Regions from separate parts of the Homo sapiens genome. Here regions 1 and 3 are each linked to region 2. Evidence: promoter capture Hi-C in 16 types of primary human blood cells and fetal thymus (Javierre and others, 2016). All regions are on one chromosome and are shown on one strand. The core of a region is centred on a gene start or on the middle of the fragment in contact, and the rest is flanking DNA. Distances in the headings are between cores, read along the strand shown.

Evidence for each region. Contacts are between HindIII fragments. The CHiCAGO score rates a contact against its expected background, and 5 or more counts as called.
Region 1: a fragment that was not itself captured here is called in contact with the fragment with the promoter of ENOX2 in region 2 in 1 of 17 cell types (total B cells); the score reaches 6.4 in total B cells.
Region 3: a contact is called between the fragment with the promoter of RBM41 here and the fragment with the promoter of ENOX2 in region 2, in 3 of 17 cell types (activated CD4 T cells, total B cells and non-activated CD4 T cells). The highest score is 12.3, in activated CD4 T cells.

What each region holds. Positions count from the first base shown.
Region 1 is chrX:150,982,485-150,986,509 of GRCh38, forward strand. HMGB3 (high mobility group box 3) reads left to right here and starts at 851. Exons shown (of 5, transcript NM_005342.4): 1 at 851-892; 2 at 3,111-3,265; 3 at 3,567-3,706. The coding sequence starts at 3,116. RefSeq lists an enhancer at 1-560 and a silencer at 682-881. The HindIII fragment of the contact is 2,746 bases long and covers 1-2,730 here.
Region 2 is chrX:130,900,782-130,904,512 of GRCh38, forward strand. It overlaps ENOX2 (ecto-NOX disulfide-thiol exchanger 2), which reads right to left and starts at 2,428. Exons shown (of 15, transcript NM_006375.4): 1 at 2,268-2,428; 2 at 903-950. RefSeq lists enhancers at 1,794-2,313, 2,174-2,443, 2,314-2,833, 2,454-2,643. The HindIII fragment of the contact is 1,854 bases long and covers 1,064-2,917 here.
Region 3 is chrX:107,117,572-107,121,259 of GRCh38, forward strand. RBM41 (RNA binding motif protein 41) reads right to left here and starts at 1,251. Exons shown (of 8, transcript NM_001324242.2): 1 at 1,195-1,251. The coding sequence starts at 1,202. RefSeq lists enhancers at 555-634, 1,015-1,204. The HindIII fragment of the contact is 8,519 bases long and covers 289-3,688 here.

The sequences.
Region 1 (4,025 bases), core at 108-2,607, about 20 Mb after region 2:
TCTAGGGTGTGTCAGGAGAGCAGAGGGAATGAGGGCCTTGAACCGAGACAGTGAAGAGGGTAAGAAGAAAAGTGTTATTCTTTGCCCACAAAACTACAATTTCTCACAAATTCTCTGCTCTTGCCAAATTTTGTTTTCCTCTTTTAGCCCGTCGGTTCCGCAATTTCGGGCGCAAATAAAGACCTTCTGGCATTTAGTGGAAAGAGCCTAGTTGAGCACGATCCGCAGAAGCGGAATCAGGTGGCTTTCGGATAGGCAGCGAGATCCGAGGACTAAATCCCGAGGTCTTGGCGAGCAAGCAGCTGCCCTCCGCCAGGCATCGAGGAGCGAGCTGCCGCCGCGTTTCTGTCGCGGCGCCGCGGCCGAACCGGGTAGAGGTGGTCTACCATCGGCCCTTCGTGGTGGGCCCAGGGGTGTTTCCCCGGGCAGGGGAGCTGACTGCAGGCCAGGGGCGCCAAGGCCGCGGTGCGGTGGGAGCAGAGGGCAGCGCAGCGGGGCTGGACTTCATCTTCCCACGCCAGAGGCCGAGGCCTCCGGGAATCGCAGGGCCACCTCTTCAAAGCCCTTGGCGATCCCAGTTCTGTTCCCCGAGGGGGCTGGCGAGGTGGGCGGGGCGGGCAGGCGAGACTAGGTCTTTCCCTGTTTGGCCTCCGTAGCCGGCGCCGGCGGGTCGTTCTGTTTGAATGAATGATCCCAGCAGCCGCGCCCAATGGGCGTCCACGCCTGCTTAATATGCATGAGGCCCGCAGCCAATGGCCAGGCGAGGAGGCTGTTTTAAACGGCAGAGCCCGCTGGCCAATCAGGCGGCTCTCGTGGAGGCAGCTAGCGCGAGGCTGGGGAGCGCTGAGCCGCGCGTCGTGCCCTGCGCTGCCCAGACTAGCGAACAATACAGGTACGTCTCGCACCGCCCGCTCCCGCCGCCGCCGCCGCCGCCGCCGCCGCCGCCGCCGCCGCCGCCGCCGCCGCCGCAGCGCCCGCACAACTTTCCGGCCCGCGCCGCCGTGAGCGCGCCCTGCCGCCGCCTCCCCCTGCCTCTACTCCCCATTCCCTTCCCGCCCCCTCCGCCTTCCCTCCTGCTAGGCGGCCGGGAAGGAAGAAGCAATTCAGGTGTTTCAACTTTTCCAACGCGTTCCCCGAGCTCCCCGCTTTCGGGGGTCGGCCCCCTCGGCGGACGCCCGCCCGTGGCGGCCCCAGGGGCCGCAGCCGGGAACCCAGGGCCCCCGAGGCCAGATGTTTGGGCAGCTGCGGCTGCGGCGGCTGGGCGAGCAGAGGGGCGGCTGCGGGCTGTGGGCGCTGGGCGGCGGCAGCGGGAAGGGGGCCGGGAGTTCCCCGGCCCGCGACGGACTCCGCTGGGGAACGGGCGGCCGGTGCCCGCCGGGGGCTGCGCGGCTGGTGCCCGCCGGGGGCCGCCGCACGGGCAAACTTCGCTCCCGGGCTTGGCCCGGCGCCGCGCGGGCCCGCAGGCTACGCCGCTGGCTCTGCGTTAACATGGCCGTCGCGGAGCGCCCGGTGGCCCGGGGGGGCGCGGGCCGGCCGCCCCCCTCTCGCCTCCCGCCCGCCCGGCGCCGCCGCCGCCGCTAACATGGCTGGCGCGGCGCTGGCCTCCGGCGAGGGCAGGGGAGGCGGGCGGAGCGGTCGGCGGGGCGCCCGGCGGGCTCCGGCCTCGGCCCCGGCGCCCGCGGCCCGGGGCGGGCGGCTCGGAGGGCCGGGGGCGCCGCTGCGGGCCCTGGAGCGGCCGAGCGTCATGGCTGCACGGGCGCCTTTGTTATCCCGAGGAGTGCGCCCCGCGCCGGGGGGCGGGGAGGTCCGGCCCGGGCCCCCGAGCCCCCGGGCGGCCCGGGCGGGGCGGGGCGGGGCGGGGTGGGGGCCGACGGGCGGGCGGCGGCGGCGGGGCCCGGGCCGCTTTGTTCGCCGCTGTCGCCGCCGCCCGCGCCGGCCGCGCGCGGATCAGCCATTTTAGCGAGTGGGACTCCGAGGCGCGGCGGACGCCGCCACCAGTGCCGCGGCTGCCGCCGGCCCGGCCGCACACCCCCCGCGCACCGCCACCGCCGCCGCCCCCGGCCCCGCGCGTCCCCCGGGGATGACAGCGGCGGATTTCAGGGGCACTTTCTTTCATCAGGAGGCTTTTGACAAAATGGAAGGTGAATTACGGGTGTCCCGGTGACCCGGCACGGGGGCCGAGGCGGGCTGCCTGCTGCCGGCCGGGACTCCCCCGCTCCCGGTCCCGCCCCGCCCGGGCCGCCGCTGCGGGTCTCTGTTGGGCAGCCTCCTGGGCGGCTGCTGCCAAGGGGAGCTCTTTAGTTTTACATGATGACCTTGGGTGTGGGAAAAGGAAAAGATGGCGGGAAGCTGGGGGGTGGGACAGGGACGATGACATGCCGCAGCTGCATTTTTATTTGGAAACTTTGGAGAAAGTGTTCTCGGCTGGACCTGCATTCTGGGTTACAGATGAGCACGACTAGCCCTTTTTATACACCCTCCCCCTTTAGATAGTGACGAAGTGATGAATTGAACTAATAGTACGGGGGTACCTGCTCACTTTCCAGATCTCCCGTGTTGTAAAGCCGTTTTTTTAGTAAGCCAAAACACATCAACAATAGTGACAATTTCAGATGTCCCCTACGTATAGTTCTCCTGCTTTGGTCTTGTGTTCAGCAGTGGTAAGAGTTGTTGTTTTTAATTGTGTTAACAGTTAGCAGATGACCAGATAGTCTTAAGTCATAGATTTCAAGCTTCTATCACCCCCACCAAATGTGTCCTCTCTCTACCCTTCCCACTTTGTGATTGTAGTTTCCAAAACATAGCAGTTCTGTAAACGTAACACTGAGTACCCTACTTGGGTCGGCTCCATTTGGAGCACTTGATCGCTTTTGAGAAGTAACTCGCAAACCAGCGCGCTTCGTGCTGGTCAAAAGTTAAATGACAAGCGACAATGAAGCTGATTTCTTTCCTACTCTGCCTTCTGCCACTGGTGTCCGGCATTGGGGGAAGGGGACTTCCTAACAGCAAGTGTAGTTTTAGTTTTGCTCTGCCTTTGGTACGTCTTGTACTTCTTGTCAATTCCTCCTTGCTTTTCCTCATTGTATTTCTTTGTTTCTCTTTTATCACAGTCAGGATGGCTAAAGGTGACCCCAAGAAACCAAAGGGCAAGATGTCCGCTTATGCCTTCTTTGTGCAGACATGCAGAGAAGAACATAAGAAGAAAAACCCAGAGGTCCCTGTCAATTTTGCGGAATTTTCCAAGAAGTGCTCTGAGAGGTGGAAGGTATTTTTCTTTGGTACCCTTCAAACTAGTCTTAGTTGGGTTTCTTACTTTGGGGTTACTTACCTTCAGATTTTCTCCCAGATAGCTGCTTGCTTCCTCTTTTACTTTTACTTAGAATCATTTTTGCTTGTCTTAAGAATTTTGTGTGTGTGCTTTTATTTTTTTAAGGCCCTGCACAGGTTTCAGGCCTTTACCTACCCCCTTTTGCAAGTGGTTCTAGCAACTGCTAGTTTAATCACAAGAAACTGAATAGGTATGTGTTCACTGCATCGAGGGATTTAACGAGTCCTGTTCTTTGCAGACGATGTCCGGGAAAGAGAAATCTAAATTTGATGAAATGGCAAAGGCAGATAAAGTGCGCTATGATCGGGAAATGAAGGATTATGGACCAGCTAAGGGAGGCAAGAAGAAGAAGGATCCTAATGCTCCCAAAAGGCCACCGTAAGTGACTATAGGATTCAAGATAACAATTAATACCTTTTCTTCTGCTTGGAGGATTTGGTTTTTTGGTCGTCCTGTATTTCATTTCAAAATGAAATATTTTTTAAAAGATACTTAAAAGATGGCAATACCTCTGCAAACCATTCTGTACTTGGGCTTTACGATGCAGTGCCAGCGTTGTCTGTGGTTAAGGCTGAAGTGTTTGTGGGCTGTGCTTGCACATTCACAGTGGTTGTCTGTTGGCCTTTCCATTGTGAAGGAGGCACTCTAGTTTTGGTTGTCAGGGTCCTTGAAGTATGTTCTTTATGCCTTTCCTAGT
Region 2 (3,731 bases), core at 1,178-3,677:
ATTTTGTACCTGTCTCTGTTATACTACACACTACAGTATCTCAGAACTGTGGGCATCCAGCTCCCCAGCTAGACCCCAGGAAGAGTTCACACCTTGTACTTCATTGTTTCTCCAACACTTCACGTGGGCAGAGGTCATGAAAGAGATCTAGTGTCCCAGGTAACTTCTTAAAATGCTAAAATAAAATACATCCAAAGTGCTATCAAGGTCCAAATAGCTTAGAGGTATGATATGTGTTATAAAGAGAATCATCTAATTCAGAAATAGCCGTACTGACTATGGTTTTGGCAGACACAATTAGCTACAGTTGCAATGACAGTTAATTTGGTTTTGGCAGCTACTTTACAGCAAATACATTCTGACATAGAAATTTTAAGTGAATCATTTGGGTTTTGGCCAGGATGATGAACTATACCTATCTCTCCTTACCACAACTGGAAAGTCAAGAACAAGAAAGAACATTGGGAGCAGCAAACCATGTTGAACAGAGCATGGGCTTTGGAGTCAGAAATCTGTACACCCAAACCTCAACTCAACTTATAATCTATGTGACTTTAAGTAGATTGTTTAACTTCTGTGCATTTTAGTGTTTTCTTCTAGAAAAAGAAACAGGAATAATAGTACCTACTTCATAACACTCAAGATAATGCAACAAAGTATTTATGATGATGACTAGGACATTATGTGGGTTCAATAAATAGCAGTCATTATTGTCACCCAATGAGATGACTACAGTTCAGATAATGTGATGCACGGGGACAGCAAATGCATTTCTTAAGAAAATATATCGATGTCTCTAGGCTTTAAAGTTGACAGCTATAGACTGTAGCTAAGAATAGCTACAAACAAAACATCTGCAAGACAAGCTTCTTCTTGGATTTAAACTCACACCTGGAACATACCATCACACTTCTTTGTGTTCTCCAAGAATTGATCTCAAATCAGGTTCCCTAGGATGAAAAGAAAAATCATCCAATCTTAATTTTTGCCTTCAATTTTATTTGATACAGAATAATATCCAAACTATGTGTATGTTTCAAAGTATCATGTTATTATGACCCCAAGCTTCTCCACCCTATTTATTTCCCAGTATATTTGTGCTGATATCTTTTATTCCAATCAGGCAAGCCCACCTGTCTCACAGTGCTCCCTCTTCTGTTTACCCTTCTCAAAGTCCAATCTCAGTAGCAGGAAGCATTTTCTCCCTCCTCTTTGACAACTTCAAATCCCCTGTACTCTGCTGGAGCCCAGATTAAAATTCACCTCCTTCACAAAGCCTGAAAGCCGGATGAGGGCTTCAGCACTTCCCGGGTTAGGCTTGAACTTCCATAGATGAACTCACCACCCCCATCAGTATGCTCTTCCACTGACCCCTCTTAGCGTTTTTTGCACACGTTTGTAATAATACAATGATTAATATGGTCTGTTTCACACGGTCTACTTTATTCTGTAGAATAAAGGTGTGCCCCCTAAATGTTTGTCAACATTAGTGCTATCAGTCTTTGCTGGAAACCCCTAAAGCGCTGGATTTTTATAACCAGTCTAACTTGCCTTTTACTCTCACCAGAACCCTGCACTGAACCTTAAACACACATTTCTCAAAAGCAAGATTCCTTCCCTCTTTTGCTTCCCATCCCTTCTAGAAATTGAGGGGAAACTCTCCCCACTTCAAAGACCTGGTGGGGGAAGTGGCAGGTGGCTGAGGGGCCAGTAAAGAGATGGCGATCAATTAAGGAGGCAAAAAGAGAAAGTTTGAAAAAAAAAAGTCACGCCCTGAGCGTGGCAAGGAATTCCCATGCCCCAAAGAAAATGGGGAGTGTAGCGCAGGGAGGGTTATGTGCCCAAACCTGAAATACAAATTGAGGGAAAAGAGGAAAGAGATCACCCAATTCCTGCGGTAAGAATTAGAGTCCAGTCACCGCCTAGGCAAAACCCTGGACGCAAACCCCAACTTCGGACCTCTGAGGAGGCACAGAGCCAGGGGGAGGGGGGCGGCGTCGTGGGAAAAAAAAAAAGGGGCGGGCGAGTTGGACCAAAAAAAAAAAAAAAAAAGAGCAAAGACAGCGCGCTCCCGGGCTCAAGAGAACTGGCGCCTAGAGCTCAAAAGCCCACCCCCGACTCCCAGTCCCGATACCCCCTCCCCTGCAGAGGTGGAGCTGGGTGGAGTTAGGCGCTGAGGACCGCGGCCCCGGAAGCACCCTCCTCCCTAGGCCCCCTCAGTCCCACAGTCCCCAGCCACGGCCACCGGGGCTTTCTGCCTCTCTGACCTCCAGCTCCCCGGCTACCGAAGCGCTAGTCCTTATACAGCCGCGGAAAATCGGGCCGGCGCGGCAGTTCCTGGGCTCGTAGTGCCCTCGCGGCGCCCCACGCCGCGCCACTCTCTTCCGAAATGCCCGCCTCGCGCTTCCAGGCCTAGACCCGGCACTCTGGCCCAAGGCTGGACTCTCACACACAGGGTGCCCACTGCGGCGTCTCCTATTGGCTACTGGTCACCGGGGAAGCCGGAGGCCCGAGCCCATGGCTTCATGGGAAATGTAGTTTGAGGTCGCTGGAGGCTGTTCTTCCTGGGGGTAACTCGTGTTGACATTGGCAGACAGACACAAGTGAGGACCGAGAATTATGGGAGATGGAGTTGCGGGACACTTATTTCTCTATACGCACAATTCTTCCCCTCCCCTTCCGATTGTCCCCAGCGTTCAGACGGGGAAGGGTATTCTGGGTATTGTAGTTTGGGTGCACTGTCTAGAGAATCTCTCTTGGGGTTATGGGTTTGTGCTTGTGGGGACAGACGAAGGCTCTAGATTTATTTTCATGTCGGTTAAGCTCTTAGCATTTTGCGGGAAGCACTTTCTATCGTGATTTGAAATTGTTATTGAGTTTTAAGTGTTTTTCAAAAGATGATGTTTATTCTTTGGTAAGCTTAGAATTTTAATTGAGAGTTATAGTCCTTTAAAATTGTTAAAGTGTGTTCCTTGTGAACCACCTGCATTAAAATCACTTGAAAGGTATGGAAGAATGTATATATTTTTTTCTAATTGGAAATTATAGTTCCCCCTGGAAACAGTGTCATAAATAGGCATAGAAATGTGATCTACACCAGCCCAGAAGAAGCCTATTTAATCCATAATGAAGCTATGTTGTTGCCATGAAAAACAGTGGCCACATAAACTGCTATAAATAACAATTTAGAACAGATAGACAATACAACTTAAGTACAAACGAGTAACTATATGTGTCTTTAAGAAACTTAACCTTTTGAGTAAAAATATGTTACAAGAGCTGGATAAAGACATAGGTGGGGAATGCCAAGCACTTCCAAGTGACTTAAAGGTTGAGGAAAATGGTTGTTTATTAGGGCTAATTTCACTCCCAACTTTTGACCTTTTTTTTTCTCTGTTAGAGATGAATCCTTGTAGCCTTGTTACAGTTGAATTACTACAACTTCTTGATGAGGACAACTTTTCGACTCACGAGTAAAATGAAGGGAAAGACAGGGGAATTGCATTTTGCTGAGGTAATTGCCCAATATTTTAAAAAGATAAGTGAAGGAGGAAGACGATTTAATAAATTCAACCATTTATTCAGCATAGTGCTTTGTGCAAAGCTCTGGGCTAGGCACTGTTGCCACAGAATTGGAAAAATAGTCCCTACCCTCAAGTAGCTCAAAATCCAGGTGAGGGGAGTTGTAGTAGAGGAGAATCTGGGGGGAGGAATAGATGAGTATACAATGT
Region 3 (3,688 bases), core at 1-2,500, about 24 Mb before region 2:
AGATGGAATAAATGATTTGGGAAAGGGAAAGTCAGTATTGTTTTAGCCACATTGAGTCTAGTAGCTTTTACAATAGAAACGCCAGCATGAAGTATCAGGAATACTTCAAATACATGACTAGGAACATTTTGTTTAGGGATAAATTCATATGTACTAGAAACTATTTGCTTTTTTAAAAGCAAGGGAATTAATAACACAAAATTCCGGATAGTGGTCACCTCAGGGGGGAACGAAGGGAGGGAAGAGACACAGTAGACTTCTAAGGGACTGGCAATGTCCTATTTCTTAAGCTTGTAGTGGATGCGAACCTTTATTATTCTTTAAGCTGTATATATACATTATACATTATTTCGCATGGAGGAGATATCATAAAAAAATATTAAAGGTTAGTTTCAGGCAGGCAAAGTCATAAACGGTTTTTTAAAAGATGCAAGGAACTGACAGTGCAGGAAAGCATATCAGTAAGAATTTTAAATGCACTGCACTATTCCAGAGTGATGATTCTACTTGCAGAGTGAATCTAAAATTAATTTAAGCCCGTCAATAGTTAGGAGGCTCAGGCCATTTAGGCTCAAGCGGCCATTTACCTCAGGACAAGTAAGGGGAACTGAGCCCAGCAATGCCTTCCACCTCCCCTCCCCCCACCCCATAAATCGAACCGCTTTGGTGCTGTCCTTCCACATTTAGAAACAAAGTACCGCTCCCTTACTTTAAGATTCGAAAGCGCTACATGGTTTCGGGGCCCAAGCAAGTAGTCTTTAACACACAGACGTTGCAAATAAATGCGCCCGCCCCGAGCCTTTCTCAGGTGGAGGTGGAGGTAGGGGAGAACGGCGAGGGGCTGGCCCGAGGTACCTACATCTCCGGCGCCGGGAATTTGTCAGCCTCAAACCCTTTTGCCCAGCTGGGTCCGGGTGAAACGACGAAGCCGCAGCACCCGGCCAGCTCCCGGGGCCCGTGCCGGGAGGGCATTCCCACAGCAGCCGGCCCCGGTGGCAGCCCTTCCTGAACTTCGCTCTGCAGGCCTGTTCAGCCCGTCTCCCCTCCTCCCGTCTCCTTTGTCGTGTTCCCGCTCCCACGAAACCGCATCCTGAGAACGTGCAATACCCAAACCAGAAAGCAATGGAAGCCATTTTCAAAAGAAAAGGTAGAACAAAGCTCCCCTTGCCGCCTGCTCTTCAGACAAGTCCTTACCTCTTCATGTTTCCACAGGCCCCTACCTCCAACTTGGGTAAATAGGCCGCGGACCTCAAGTCCCAGAACTCCGCGCGGCGGACTTCTAAGGGTATTGTGATGGAGCATGGGGCTCTGGGAATTGTAGTAGCACAGAGCTATGGCAACAGAAAGAGAAAGTAGATCTCAAGTGACAGGTATGCTGAACATTGTCCAAATATTTATTTTGAATTTCTCATTTAGGTTCAAAAGAAGACCCAAAATATCCAGCTCATAAAACGAGTCACCTTTGACTTCTTGATTCTCTCATCCATTACCACTAATTCCTGGCTCTTCTGTAATTTCCTTTGAACTTATCAACACTGCTTTTCTTTCAAGGATTTATCCAGCCTACCTACCGTTTCCAGTCGAGCCTCTGCTTCATCCTTCACGATGTAGCCAGAGTCATCAGACACGAGTCTGACTATATCACCTGTACTAATGGTTCTCCTCTATCTGTAACAGAGACTTGAGAGTTTTCTCCACTCAGAATCAGAAGTCTGTGTATGTTCAGGCCCACATATGTTTTATTGATAATTATGGTGAATCAAGAAAGAGGTATAGTATAGTGGTTAAAAGCATAGGCTCTTAGTTTCCAGAAATGGAAATGCAAATGTCTTTAAGTGTATGAAAAGATGTCCAATCTCACAAATTTTAAAGTACACTGACTACCAGTACTCCTTAAAACTAGCAAGGTCATCAAAAACACAAGAATCTGTCACAGCCAAAAGGAACCAAAGGAGTCATGATGACTAAAGTAATGCAGTATCTTGGATGGGATCCTGGAAAAGAAAAAAAGACATGAGGTAAAAACTAAGGAAATGTGAACAAACTATGCTCTTTAGCTAATAACAAGGTTCGTTAGCTGTGACAAATGTATCAGAGTTATGCAAGGGAAACTGAGTTGTACGTATGTGGAACTTTGTACTATGCAACCTTTCTGTATCTAAAACTGTTCTAGAACTTAAAGTTTATTTTTAAAAGTACATTAAACTACCATTTTTCACCTAACAGATTGGGAAAGATCCAAAAGTTTGATAACACACTTGTTTTATTGAGATTGTGGGGAAACGGGCGCTCTCAATACACTAGTGGTAGGAATATAAATTGGTACAACATCTATTGGGGGCAAATGAGGATACTACTAAAATCATAAATGTACATTCCCTTTAAAGCAGCAATTCAGTTATGAATAGAATCCTCAATACTATATATCCTCTAACCTACTATCATTCCTTGCAACATTGTTTATGAAAACAGAAATGAAAATATCCAAGAACATACTATGAAAATGTATCATTCAATGAAAAACTATGCAGCAGTTACCAAGATGACAAAGTTCTCTATGAACTGCTACTAAACAATCTCCAAAATATAGTTAGTGCAATAGCAAGGTGCAGAACGATATGTATACTATGCTTCTATTTGCATAAAAAGGGGAGCTCTAGTCACTTAAAAACATATATATGTGTGTTTGCTTGTATATGCACAAAATATGTTTGGGAGAACTTACAGACAAATGATGAGTGAATGCCTCCAGGTAGGGGAACTGGATGGCTGAGGGACAAGGGCAGAAAAAATTCTTCACGTATCTTTTTGTGCCCTTTGAATTTTGAACCCATGACTACATTACCTAGTCAATACTTTTTTAATTAAAGAGAAACCCTCTTACATCTCAAGAAGCCAAAGAAGAAAAGATTGTAGGTAATGGTGGGGGGCGGGGCACACTACTTGGATTTGAATCTCACTTCTCAGTTGACAGTATAGCACGACAGGGTTTTAGAGGCAATCTGGACTTGAATTTTTGCTCTGGTAAGTTACTAGACCATGTGGGTTTCAGTAAGTTTCTTAACTGGTCTAGGCCAGTTTTCTCATCTGTAAAATGAGGATACCTCCTAAGTATAGGGTGACTGTCAAGCACATACAAAGGTATGGTTTTAAAGTTATTCCATGATTGAGTGGTAATCTATGAGTAAATAGTCAAATGTTAATCAGTAGATTTAGACTTATCCAAACTGCTTTGTATTTCCATGCTCAAGTTAGAGCAAAGGACCAAAAAGCAGCTACTGAAAAACATTGTAGAATTTCCTGTCCTGAGAACTTCTATCAGATTGAAAATGTCATGGTGAGCTACCTAAGACCTGTCACATGCAAATAACTGTGCTCTTGAATCATAAAGGTGAATGACTGCAGGCATAGCATGTACCACTTTGTAGCTTTGGCACAGAACGTGAACTGAATATAAGTATAAACAAAACGGGGGGTCACATCATTGCCTGCACCAGGTAAATCCTATATGGTGGTAGAGCTGAATTTTGTGGCTCAACCAATCTGTCCCAATTGACATATTGACAAGGAAATGGAAAAATACACCAAGGTTGCTAGTGTGCTTATCCCCTGGGACGGTGGCAAAGGATGGAACAAATATTACACCAACCATCACACCAAACTTGTGTACAACTTCTAATAAAACATA